Linked DNA regions of Homo sapiens: region 2 is linked to region 1. The links are contacts of gene promoters, found by promoter capture Hi-C in blood cells and fetal thymus (Javierre and others, 2016). All regions are on one chromosome and are shown on one strand. The core of a region is centred on a gene start or on the middle of the fragment in contact, and the rest is flanking DNA. Distances in the headings are between cores, read along the strand shown. Region 1 holds the start of GABARAPL2 (GABA type A receptor associated protein like 2). Region 2 overlaps ZNRF1 (zinc and ring finger 1).

Region 1 (6,018 bases), core at 1,195-3,694:
AATATATCCAGAATACAACTGCTTCCCATCACCTCTGTAGACCCCACCTTGGCCAAAGCCAACATCATCTTTCACCAGGATTATCACAATAGTGTCTCAACTATTTCCCTGCTTCCACCCTCAGCGCCTACAGTCTACTAAGCTAGCCTTTTGAAAAGGAAAGGCAGATTGTGTTACGTCTCTGCTTAAACCCCTACACTGACTTCTCATCTCATTCTAAATAAAATCCAAAGCTCTTTGCATGGAATTCAAAGCTCAACACAGTTTTGTTCTAGATATCTTTGAATTTGTCTCATAACACACTCTCCTCTCTCATTTATTCAGCTCCAGCCACAGGGGTTCCCTAGAATATGCCAGGCACTTTATCTAATTAGCATTCCATCCCACCACACTCTCTAGTCACCTACTGTGCTTTATTTTTCGAAATAGCACCTATCATTACCTAACATACTTATTTTTTGTCTTATCCCACTAGAATATGTCAGGGGGACAAGAATATCTCATGCTGCCACCCATGAGAATAGGGATGTCATCTGTCTTCTTCACTGTTTTTCCCCAGCACCTAGCACAGAGCTCTTGTATGTAACAATAATTTCTAAGTAGGAAATTCAAAGGATTTTTTCCACTTCATTAAAAACAAACAAACAGATGCAGTGGCTCACACCTGTAATCCTAGCACTTTGGGAGGCCGAGGCGGGCAAATCACTTACTTGAGGTGAGAAGTTCAAGACCAGCCTGGCGAACATGACAAAACCCCATCTCTACCAAAAATACAAAAATTAGCTGGGTGTGGTGGTGTGTCCCTGTAGTCCCAGCTACTCAGGAGGCTGAGGCAGCAGAATCGCTTGAACCCAGGAGGCAGACTGCAGTAAGCCAAGATTGTGCCACTGAACTCCAGCCTGGGTGACAGAGAAAGACCCTGTCTCCAAAAAACAAAAACAAAAACAAAGAAACAAAAAAACCTATTCTAGTTACTCAGACACACAGTCTTAAAATAACAAAAATACTTATAGAATGAAGCTAGATTCCACAGCATCGATCAGGAATTTCCAGTGTAGGAAATGATGAACTACCACATTCAAACATACAGGCTTTACAGGTGCATCAGAATCACAAGCACGTGGCAGGGTTCATGTGCCCAATTAAGTGAATATTCCTGCTACATGTTCAGCAGCTTATAAACAGATGGTGACCCAGACCAGACTGCCTTGATGAGTCTGCTTGGAAAAAAGGCATTACATCACTGATTGGAGAACCTCAAAGCATATGTCCGGGCAGGTGACACACACACAGCTCAGGCTGTGATTGCTAAACCACTCCCACAGCCAAATAAGGAAACCCATCTCATGACCAGCTCTCAGGGGAATTCTCCGAGTCTGACAGTCACCTCTAACTCCTCTGCCAGTTAAAATTAAGGGGTCTGTGATCAGTGATGTTACACTCCTCAAATGTGCATTTTTTTTTGAGGCGGAGTCTTGCTCTGTTGCCCAGGCTGGAGTGCAGTGGTGTGATCTCGGCTCACTGCCACCTCCACCTCCCTGGTTCAAACGATTCTCCTGCCTCAGCCTCCCGAGGAGCTGGGACTACAGGCGCCCACTACCATGCCTGGCTAATTTTTGTATTTTTAGTAGAGACGGGGTTTCACCATGTTGGCCAGGCTGGTCTTCAACTCCTGACCTCAGGTGATCCACCCGCGTCGGCCTCCCAAAGTGTTGGGATTACAGGCGTGAGCCACCGTACCCCGCCTCAAATGTGCATTTGTGATACCTTTTCGTAAATGTTTATTCAAATATTTATTCACGAATAAAGGAAGAAAACGGGATTTGTTTAAATTCAATTTCTAGGTCCAAGACAACCTACTACGGCTGTCCCTAATACGGACCTCCGGGTTGTCCTCAGTGCCGCTTCCAACAGTGTCCTCAAACACCCTCCCCTCCCATAATGAGCCCCCAACCTGTCACCACTCCGAGCAATACTCCCCAAACTGTCAACGCCCTAAACAGCTCCCTTGTTATCGCCAAGCTCTAGAAAGCCCTCCTTATGTCATTCTTACCCCTAAAGACCGTTCTTGTCACCAATTCCCCAGACTTCCCCTATGAACCGCTCTAAGAGCCCTCAGCTATCAGCCACACCCCCAAACAGCCCTCAGTAAGAGCCCTACACTATCAGCCAGACGTTTTCCGCCACCAACGCTCCCGAGACCCCACTCCTGTCACCAGTTCCCCGAACATTCCTGCGAGCAATGTCGCAGATACTGCTCACAGACGTCCCCATAACCAACTTCTTCGCCACCGCAGCCCAGGAGCCCCCAAAGGGGTCCTCCGCGGCCCCGCCCCTTTACGTGCGGCCCCGCCCCTTGGCGTGGCGCCCTGACAAATGGCGCCGGAAGCCCCGCCCCCGGCCGGTTGCTAGGCTCCGACAGCCGGAAGTCCCGCCTGCCGTGTAGTCGCCGCCGTCGCTGCCGCTGCCGCTGCCGCCGTCGTTGTTGTTGTGCTCGGTGCGCTGAGCTCCGCGGCTCCGCGAGCCGGTTCCGTCCCCTTCCCGCCGCCGCCATGAAGTGGATGTTCAAGGAGGACCACTCGCTGGGTAAGCACTTGGTCGTCGGCCCGGCTGCTGGGGGCTGGGGCGGCGGGTGGGCCCCCTCCCCCACTCGGGCGGCCCTGGGCCGAGTGGAGCGGGGCGGATGCCCTGCTGCGGGCTGGAGTCGCCCATGCCCTGGTGCCTCGGGCAGCGGCCCCCTGACCCCATGTCACCCTCCGCGGGCCTTGCTGGGAGCTAGTAGGGGACAGGACCGCGGCCCCGGGGACGCCGGAACCAGGGCCTGGGTTGTACGCAGGGCGCAGGAGGAGGAGGGCCGGGGGCCGGGAACCGACCGGTGGGCAGGCGCGGCCGTCAGCCCCGTTTGTTTCTCCCACAGAACACAGATGCGTGGAGTCCGCGAAGATTCGAGCGAAATATCCCGACAGGGTTCCGGTGAGTGGACTCTCCGCCCCCTCACCTCGCTGTCACCTCTGTCGTCTGGGACCCGTGATAGGCCCCAGGCCATTCAACAGTTGACAAGTTGAGGTTCCAGTCCCAGTTACAGTAGCTGACGGGCCAGACCGGGATGAGGCCGCCCAGGGCCGGGGCGTGAGGGGCTCGGGCTGGTGCTGTTCAGGGTGCCTCAGTGCTGAATCTCCCGATCTAGGCCAGCGAGCCGTCTGCAGCCTCGGGGCTCCCTGGCCAATTATGTAAGGAACGATGTTCTAGGACAGGGCAACAGGTCACTGCCACTTTTGGGAATGGTGGTGGAGGGAGACTGTCATTTTGGTCTTGGAAGTGGTACTTGAGTCTCAGGACGTTCATCTTTTACTTTGTCTCCATCTTTACCTAACTTCTAGCTCCGTTATCTCACCTTGACCCTGTCATCCTTGCCTGACCAAAATAATGTGAAAAGCCGCTGAAAACCCCTTCTGCCATATTTTCTTCTTAGTCAATAATAAATATAATGTTATATTTCTTCCATGGTTGGGGAGATAGTTTTGTAATCGTTATTAATTTTTAATGGACATTAAGGCCTGTTATTGTAGCTCTTTGCTTGTGAATAATTTGTCTGGGGAAAGGAGTAGGAGGGACGGATTTGAAACTTGTTCAGAGAGGAGCAACAGGCCAAATGAAGAACTTGGTTCTTGGCTGGCTAAAATTCCAGGCATTCCAATTAGTCCATCCATTCTTGTCTCCTGTGTTCCTTGGGAACACAGTAGTGTTTCCTGTAGTGTGAAGGTGGATCCATTCTGGGGTCCTGGAGTAACGGGCCATGGATGAAACCCTCCCCAGATATTCTTAGGTCTGCCCAGATAAAATGTGGAAAAGCTTAGTGGTAAGGGCTGCATTTCTCTTACATAATTGACCACAGAAAAGCACTTACTGTTTCCCTGTAACACATTTATATCAATTCTTAACCTCCAGAGCGTGTGGTTTATTAAGCCAAAGACATATTTTCTCCTGCTATGCAGTTCCCCACCCACCTCCTTGCCCACACTCTGTTCATCAGCTCCTCAGCCATGTGAGGCCAGAGCCTCGCTTTAGGAAACACAGTCCTGACCTCTCTTTACTTTCCCAGGTGATTGTGGAAAAGGTCTCAGGCTCTCAGATTGTTGACATTGACAAACGGAAGTACTTGGTTCCATCTGATATCACTGTGGCTCAGTTCATGTGGATCATCAGGAAAAGGATCCAGCTTCCTTCTGAAAAGGCGATCTTCCTGTTTGTGGATAAGACAGTCCCACAGTCCAGGTGAGAGGTGTTTACTAGATGGGCCCTCTGGTATTAGACATCTGGTTGGCTGCTTACGGAACTCCAAAACTTTGGAAGTCTGAAAACTCTTAGGGGTCCTGACTAGAAATCTGGATTTTATGCTCCCTGACATCAGGGGCTCCAGGAAAATAATGGCTGCAATACATAAGAGTGCATTTTGGATTCAGAAAATAGAACAAGGCCTGGACTTTTAAAAAAATGATGAAACTCAGCCTAAGATCTCCAAGAATCTTTTAAAACGGTTGAGAACTTATTTAGTCTTAAGCTATAGGTAGAACTGAGGCCTGAAATGAGGTTTTCTTCCCTGAAGGCAGTCCTGGCATGCTCCTCCACTGGGAGCCTGTGGGCCCTGCTGAGGCTCACTCAGTTAATCATCCAGTTTGCTTGCTCCCAAACTTGGTCAACTCTTTGACATTGTAAGAGTCTATAGCTGCCTGATCCTCAAGTCTGACAAAATGACTGCGGCACAGTAAAGGGCTCTGAAGTCTCTTTACAGACTTATACCTCCCTTGGTAGCACTTGCTTTGACTGTCAGACTATTGTGCTGCCTGGAAGCAATCTTTGGGACTGTAACTTGTGGCCTGAATGTAGGCAGAGGCATTAGAATTCCCGTTTTCTGTGTGTTTGACAGCCCAGCTTTAGTCCCCTGTGGAAAAAGGAAAGTGGATGGGCTCCGTCTAACCTCCTGGTCAGTCCTTTCCCGTTACTGAGTGGGTAGTTGTAGGCCCTGATCCAGATTCCAGCCCCCACCTCTCCCCTGAGTGTGAGTTTCTGGCCACATCTTATCTTTGTGACCCAATCTAGGTTTCATTTACCACTCCCAGAAGTAATACTTCTAAAAGTGAAGGCTCTCAGAAGCCCTGGGAACTAGCCCAATGTTGTCCAAATAGGTTCCTGTTGAAAATCCTTGAAGACTCCAGAAGAGGCCTGTGCCAAATTCCAGACCTTATTTCTGTTAAAGGTGGAAAGCTCTGGCCATTTTTTGGTCTGATTTCCTCTTTCCCAGTGTCCTCCACCTCTACTTCCTGGTGTCTGATAGAAAGGCAGGGGAGAAATGGAAGCTCCTTCCCTAAGGCCAGTATTCAACCTGAGGAGACACCCCAGGGCCTGCCCACTGGACGCCATTGGTCTGCCACAGCTGTAGCTCTGGAAGCTGTGGTGTTGCTTGAGGAGATCTTGTCACCCATGGGGCTCTTCTAACCTTCCTTCCCAGGCCTCTGGGCTGTGTCTTCACCAGGGGAGGAAGCCTTGGGCATCCGTGGTTACCCTGGGCTTTCCTTAACGTGTTTGGGGAGGTAATCTTCTTTCATAACATCTGCAACTTCTACAGAGCCTTGGTGACTCTGTGTTTTGTACTTCCTGGAGGTGTTGGCTTAGTGGGAGAAAATAAGTGACTAGGACCTATGGCATTGAGTTTATTTTCCTCAATTCTGATTCTCTGGTTCTTCTCAAAGGAAATGAAGCAGGCTTCTGGAGACCTTAAGATTACTCAGATGGCTCCACAGTAATCTAGCAATTAAAATGGCTACAGGTCTTATCAACTTCCCCTCCCCCGTTATCCCTGAGATAGAAATAGAATTGGAAATGAAAAATGATTTTTCAGGGCAGCAGAGACTGTTTCAAGCCATTTTCTCTCCAAGTCCCATTTGCCTTTCCAGTGTGGTGAGAATCAACCCTAAAGCAGATTACACTGGTAACTCAAGTCAGGATTTTAGGGCCGAG
Region 2 (6,018 bases), core at 1,455-3,954, 460 kb before region 1:
TGCTTGCCCCATGCCACCTGTCCACTGGTGACTAACCCTCCTGCACTCTCCCCTGTCCCCCTTGCAGATGATGTGCTGACTAAAGACGCGGGTGAGTGTGTGATCTGCCTGGAGGAGCTGCTGCAGGGGGACACGATAGCCAGGCTGCCCTGCCTGTGCATCTATCACAAAAGGTAGGAGGGGTTGGCAAGGTAGCTTAGTGCACCCCACCTCCCAGAGGGGCGGACCCCCATCTCCAGCCATTCTGTCTCCTTTGGTTATGGGATGACCTCTCCCCCGACCTCTGGCTCCGAGCGGGTAAGGGCAGAGGCCATCAGACAGGTGTCCACTGTGCCGGCGGGAAGGTGCGAGCATCCCAAGTGCAGAGCAGAGTGGAGTTGCCAGAGGTGTGCTCTGGTTTGAGGGCTCAGGTGGTGGGAGCTGATGGGGAGACCCGTAGAGCCTCACAGGTTGGAGGAGCTTCGGATCCCACTGGGAAGGTTGGTTCTCCGTCTGTCTCCCTGCCTCTTCTTCCTCTACGGGTCCCTCTGCTCCACAGGGGTAGAACATCAATCTGTGCGAGGAAGGCCAGGCGGAGGGTGTACCCACTGCCTTGCACTGGCCTTCTCCCTAGAGGGCCGGGAGGCAGGAAGAGCCATTTCCTGTGGGGCCACAGCACTGGGCACAGTTAAAAGTAGCAGGGCCCAGATATGCCTTGGGACTCCAGTGTGAGCCTCGTCCTTGTTTCCAGCTGGAAGGAAGGCACCCTCTTGCCCAAGACAGGACACTGTGCTGCCTGGGGCCAGCACCTGTTGAATCCTCGAGCCCAGAGCTTCTTCCTGACACTCAGGCCTTTCAAAGCCTGACTCTCAGGGCCACTGCTGCACAGGGTGACAACCGGGCATGGCACGCAGTGTGGCTGGTGCAGAGGAGGCTTAAGGCTGGCCTGGGAGAGATTCTTGGTCTAGCTCCCAGCACGGAGCCTTGCTTGTGTCCCAGGGCGGCACTAACCAGAACCAGAAAAGGAAATCTTTGGCCCTCGGGGAGAATTATGCCAATTATCTGTCTGGTTCCTGTCTTTGAAAATGCCCAGATGTTGGTTTACAAATCAGGAAGCTGTCTTGGGGCAATCTCTGTTCCCTCTTTGATGCAGAGAGCCTTTCTCTGTAAACACTGGAGAGCAGGGCTTCACTGTCTGGCTCCCCTCCCGCCTCTTGCAGGAAGGACTAGATGCTGCTGATCAGCTGATCATGGCTGAGCCGGGTAGAGCTTGGGGCTCTCCTAAGAGGTCACCCACTGGGAGGGAGCTTCACAGCTGTTCTTTTGACCCAGGAAGGAGCTCTTTCAGGACTGTGGCACCCAGAGCCGTGGCCCTCCTGCCATGCCATTGTTCCCACTTCCCTGCCCTTGGGAGTCTTGGAGACAGCTGACTAGCTGCCCTGAGGGGTCCACCGCTCTCACCTTCTCACTGGTGGCTGCTGCCATTCTCCTGGGCTCTGCACAGAAAGCTTTGGTCCTTCTGAAAGCCACTCTGCCCCTTCCTGCAGCACCAGATCCCCCTGAGCCGGTACTGCTGCCTCCACCTGGGCCAAGACTAGTCTTGGTGTTCACCCTTCTTCGTGCTTCAGAAAGTAGGGATATCTGGGGACATGACTGTGTTTCCCTGGGGTCCTTTCAGAAGAGACTTAGGAAGCTCCTGCTCAGGAATCTGGCCCTCTGAAAGAGCCCCTTCAAAGCAGCCTGGGCAGCAGGTAACGTGGTTTCCCTTGCGGCCCCCTCCTCCCAGCTGCATAGACTCGTGGTTTGAAGTGAACAGATCTTGTCCGGAACACCCTGCGGACTGACCTGCGGGCTTGCTTGCTGACTCCTCTCAAAGGTGAGCCCGCGTTTGGGGGTGCTCCGGGCTCAAGGCTTGGGGTCAGGTCACTTTGGGGGCCTGCAGTTTAGGGAGCCGGGCTGCCCTTATGCCACTGAGAAGAAAGCAGGAGCAGAGGGAAGGAGCACCTCATCAGTGAGCAGTTAGTCATCCGGAAATGATTTTCCCTGGGAAGGACAAGAGATACAAACCAACATGGACAGTTATGAAGAACAGGCTCAGAAGAGTTAGGATCAGTTGGGGAAGAGACCAGTACAATCTACATTCCTAAAGAAAGTTCAGGAATATCCCCTGGGAATGTGCACGGGCAGGAAAAGGAGCCTGAGCGGTGGGTTTGTGCCTGGCTTGGCCTCATCCTCGCTCACCTCTGAGTCTCCGCCTCTTCTATGGTAACGGGGATAATCTCACTCCCTGTTGCCATAAGGACATTGCACTTACTAAACAGCCATGGGCAGTGCATTGTTCCCTGCAAAGTGCTGGTCAGCGATCATTTGACCACTGCTTCTTCCCATGCCGCTTCCAGATGAATCTGAGGCCTCCAGGCCAGACTCGATCCCTCTATCCCACAGCACTGGGTGCTGACTCCACACATCCCCCTGGCTTACCGCTGGGTCTGGCCTCCCCATTTCTCCCCCAGGGGTACCCCACTTGCTGCCAACCATCCACCCCTGACCCCCATCTCACCTGTCCCCTCCAAGTTCTGGGCTGGCATTTTCCTTTTTCTGGCAAACAAGTAGACAAAACCCCCATAAAAACCAAAAGCCCAACTCCATCTCACAGCCAAAGGTTTTGGGACCTTTTTCTTCCCCCCTCCCTTTCTCTCTCTCTTGCTTTCGTTTTCTTTTGTTAGGTTTATTTTATTTATTCCAAGTAAACTCCCAGAACAGCTGATGATGTCAGACAAATCAGGGACATTTGCTCTTTTTACCTCCACCTCAAAAACTGATGACAAGGGGAGAAGAAAGAGCCAGGGGGGAGAGTGAGGCAGGGGAGTAGAACCTGCCCAGGCACATGGCTGCAAATTCCCCGTGTGCTGTTTGGCTTCTGGGGTCCTGTGTAGACGCCCCAGCCCCGCCTGCCCTCTTGGGATGCAGCTGCCCTGGGATGAGCAGACAGCCCTCGGCCCGATGGAGCACGACTTATTTATTACGGTCCACACAGGGACAGAGCGCCCCTGCTCCAGGGAGGAGGCTCACCGGACCCTGGGGCAGAGCTGAGCTTGGGACACCAGCGGGAACAGGGCACCCCTTCTGCACTGACTTCCAGATCATGGTTCTCCCTTCCTCCCTGAGGACACCAAATTGGATGAGAGCAAGTTTGAGAGAAGAATGAATCAACTGCTATCCTTCCCCTCACCCCTCAGCCCAGGAGGGAAAGGGCATTTTCTTTTTCATCTTTGAAAGGCATTGTGGGTCTGTCTTTAAAGTGTTTACAAAAAAAAATTATATAAAAAAAAAGTCTAGTGTCGACTGGTGTTTTCCCTCGTGATGTTTACAGCTTGCTGTTTGCTGCCCAGCCATAACCCACTCAGTGACAGACGAACACAGCTAAGGCCTCGCTGCCAGCCTTCTGACGGCGGGCGAGCACACGGTCTCTTCCCCTGCCCCAACTGGCCCTCTCCACCACCAACTTCTCTACTTTGGGTTTGTTTGGTTTTTTCCCTCTATTTTTCTGGCTGGTTTTTTGCTCTTTTCTCCCCTTGAGACCCTAATATCTTGACTTCATTGCCAAAAAACAACCCATTGAGAACTTTCTTCCTACTGATCCCATCTCTTTTCCCTTCTTTCCTCCTGGTTCCGGTCAGTTCAGAGGATTTAACAATCACAAGTGTCCTGCAAAAATGCCTGAACATTATTCTTAGGCCCTCGTGGATTTTTTTTTTCAGAAAACTTAAACAAAAAAAGACTTACTAAGAAATATGTACAGCTACCCCTGTTTTCAGGCACTATGTTTGAGAACATTTTAGCCATTGATGTTCACACGTGGCATCAGCCCATGCAAGATAGGTTTCTGTATTTATATATTAAAATACAAAAAAAAACTTATAAAATGTTTAAAAAAATGTTCAAAGCTTGGGAGAAAAGCTTTCTTCATTAGTCAAGGTGTTTTGATATGGTATTAAAATGTCTAATAAAAGATGGCACTGCGTGATTTTATTTTAATGAAGTGTTATACAATCAAGAAATGGGGGCAAGGGCCTGCCCCCCACTCCCTCACCTACCTCCTTAGCATTCCTTCAGGCTGCTACTCGGGGCTCCAGGTGTGTGAATTGGTCCTCAGATAGTCAGGCCTGGGTGGAGGGAGTGGCAAGTCAGGCGTGCCTCCTACAAGCTTCCTAACCTCTTAAGCATCATGGAACCAGTCAGCCCTCTGTGGAGTCATTGTGCTGGACCTCTGAAAAGATCTGCAGGGGCCAAGATGTTGCAGCCACCGGAGGCTGCAAGGATGTGGGTTCTTCCAGGTGTGGGCCCAGCCCCCCTCCTTCCAGCCTTTGCTCCCCATCCCACGTTCCACTCGCCCTGCCTGTTGTTCAGTTTGCGTCTCAGTGCTGACTCACGGGCATGCTTCATTGAGGCCCAGGAAGAGGCCCTGGTTTGGGGCTGTGCCAGCTCAGAGCCCTTGAACCAGAACCAACTGCTCAGGCTCACAAAAGTTGGCAAAATGCGGGCTGGGCAGGCAGCTCGGGGCAGGGAGCAGCAGTGCAGGCCTGGCCTGTGTCCCCGTGCCCAGCGGGCTCCCGGAGCAGCATTCCAGAGCCTCCTGCAGAGCCAGCGAAGGAAAGCTCTAGAGGGAGACGACTCCACCGCCTCTCTGCTCTGACCCTTCTCAGGCCCGCCTGATGTGCTGGACCATCCCCCTGCTGCCACGGCCCCTGGCTCCGCAGTCACCCTCCATCAGATGCTTCCAGAAGCACCTACTCTGTGCAAGGGCATTCACAACAGGCCAGTGGGCAAACGTGAGCCAGGGCCAGCGGAGAAACACTAAAGAAGACTCGGTGGTTCAGAGCCTGGGTCTCAGCGCGGGACCCGTCTGGGGTGAAGACCTTGGGGCTGTTGTGAGTCGGTGGCAGGAACGTGGGCTCTAGACTGTGCATTCAGGCTCTCCTACTTGGCAGAATGATCTTGGGGAAACGACTTCATCTGAACTTCAGATATTTCACATGTGAAGCGGGGACAAAACCATGCAGCTCAGAGGTCCCTGTGGGGGCTGGGGGAGCTGCCCTGCAGGTCTTGGCACATGCACAGCAGGCTCCCCATAGCTTTGTCACCACAAAGGGCACTGTTCTATTCACAGCACCTCCTGCTTCTGCCTGGCAACTGTGTCTCCCTGTGCTATATTTAATTCCACCAGCAAAGCTGGCGAGGCAGGGCCCAGCCCTGAAGGAGATCTCCTTGCCTGACCCCTGGACCTGGAAATGGAGGCTTCATGTGCCCGCCTTGGCGGCTTAAGCCTGCTGCTTTGGCAGTGCCATGGGTGAGCCGAGCAGCTGTGAGGTGGGTGGGGCAGGGCTGTAGCCCACGCCGGGTGCTATTCCAGGCTCTAGGGGCTGGTGCTCATCCCCACCCCCAGCGACTTCCGTCCTACCTGGCATGCTGCAGCCCTCTGCCGGCTGTGGTGTCCTCTGAATTTGGACCCAGGTTGCCTGCTCTTGTTGTGGGGGTGGGATTGGGGCTGTCTGTGTTTCCCAGGTGGAGCTCATGTTTGTGATCCTCTATCTGGACAGCTCTCCAGAATCCTGTGTTGCCCCTGTTCTGCCTTTCTGGGATGGGAGAGAAGGTGAGGGAGCCGGCGAGCAGGTTCTACCCTCTCTGCTAAGGGCCTAGCACACTTTGATGAGGTTCCTGGACGTGAGACCCTCACAAAGACCAACCATTCCTCTAATAGCCATTTAACGGTACTGCAGTTCATGGGAAAATGTCCTCATTCTTAGGAGATAGATGCTGGATTATATAGGTGAATGCCTTCAAGAAATGTGTAATTTAATTCCAAATAGTTCCCCCCAAAATACACAAAGCAAATAAGGCCAAAATGTTCATTGTTGAATCTGCAGTGGCTGGTATTTCAGTGAACAGTGTACTTGTTCTTTCAACTTTTCTGTATGTTTGGAATTTTTCTTAATAAAAGATTGTGGGAAATGGTCATTTGCTGAGCGCCTCCTAGTT

What was found. The method cuts DNA at HindIII sites, captures the fragments that hold promoters and counts their contacts. A CHiCAGO score of 5 or more calls a contact.
Region 2: a contact is called between a fragment that was not itself captured here and the fragment with the promoter of GABARAPL2 in region 1, in 1 of 17 cell types (monocytes). The highest score is 6.6, in monocytes.

What each region holds. Positions count from the first base shown.
Region 1 is chr16:75,563,935-75,569,952 of GRCh38, forward strand. GABARAPL2 (GABA type A receptor associated protein like 2) reads left to right here and starts at 2,445. Exons shown (of 4, transcript NM_007285.7): 1 at 2,445-2,586; 2 at 2,918-2,973; 3 at 4,103-4,275. The coding sequence starts at 2,553. RefSeq lists a silencer at 2,508-2,917 and enhancers at 2,907-3,660, 5,461-5,560. The HindIII fragment of the contact is 5,212 bases long and covers 1-3,850 here.
Region 2 is chr16:75,104,717-75,110,734 of GRCh38, forward strand. It overlaps ZNRF1 (zinc and ring finger 1), which reads left to right. Exons shown (of 5, transcript NM_032268.5): 3 at 68-173; 4 at 1,766-1,855; 5 at 3,017-6,018. The coding sequence ends at 1,823. Among named protein-coding and RNA genes, the nearest start is that of LDHD, 9.1 kb to the right of the region's middle. RefSeq lists enhancers at 2,950-3,119, 4,314-4,463, 4,494-4,573. The HindIII fragment of the contact is 2,439 bases long and covers 1,486-3,924 here.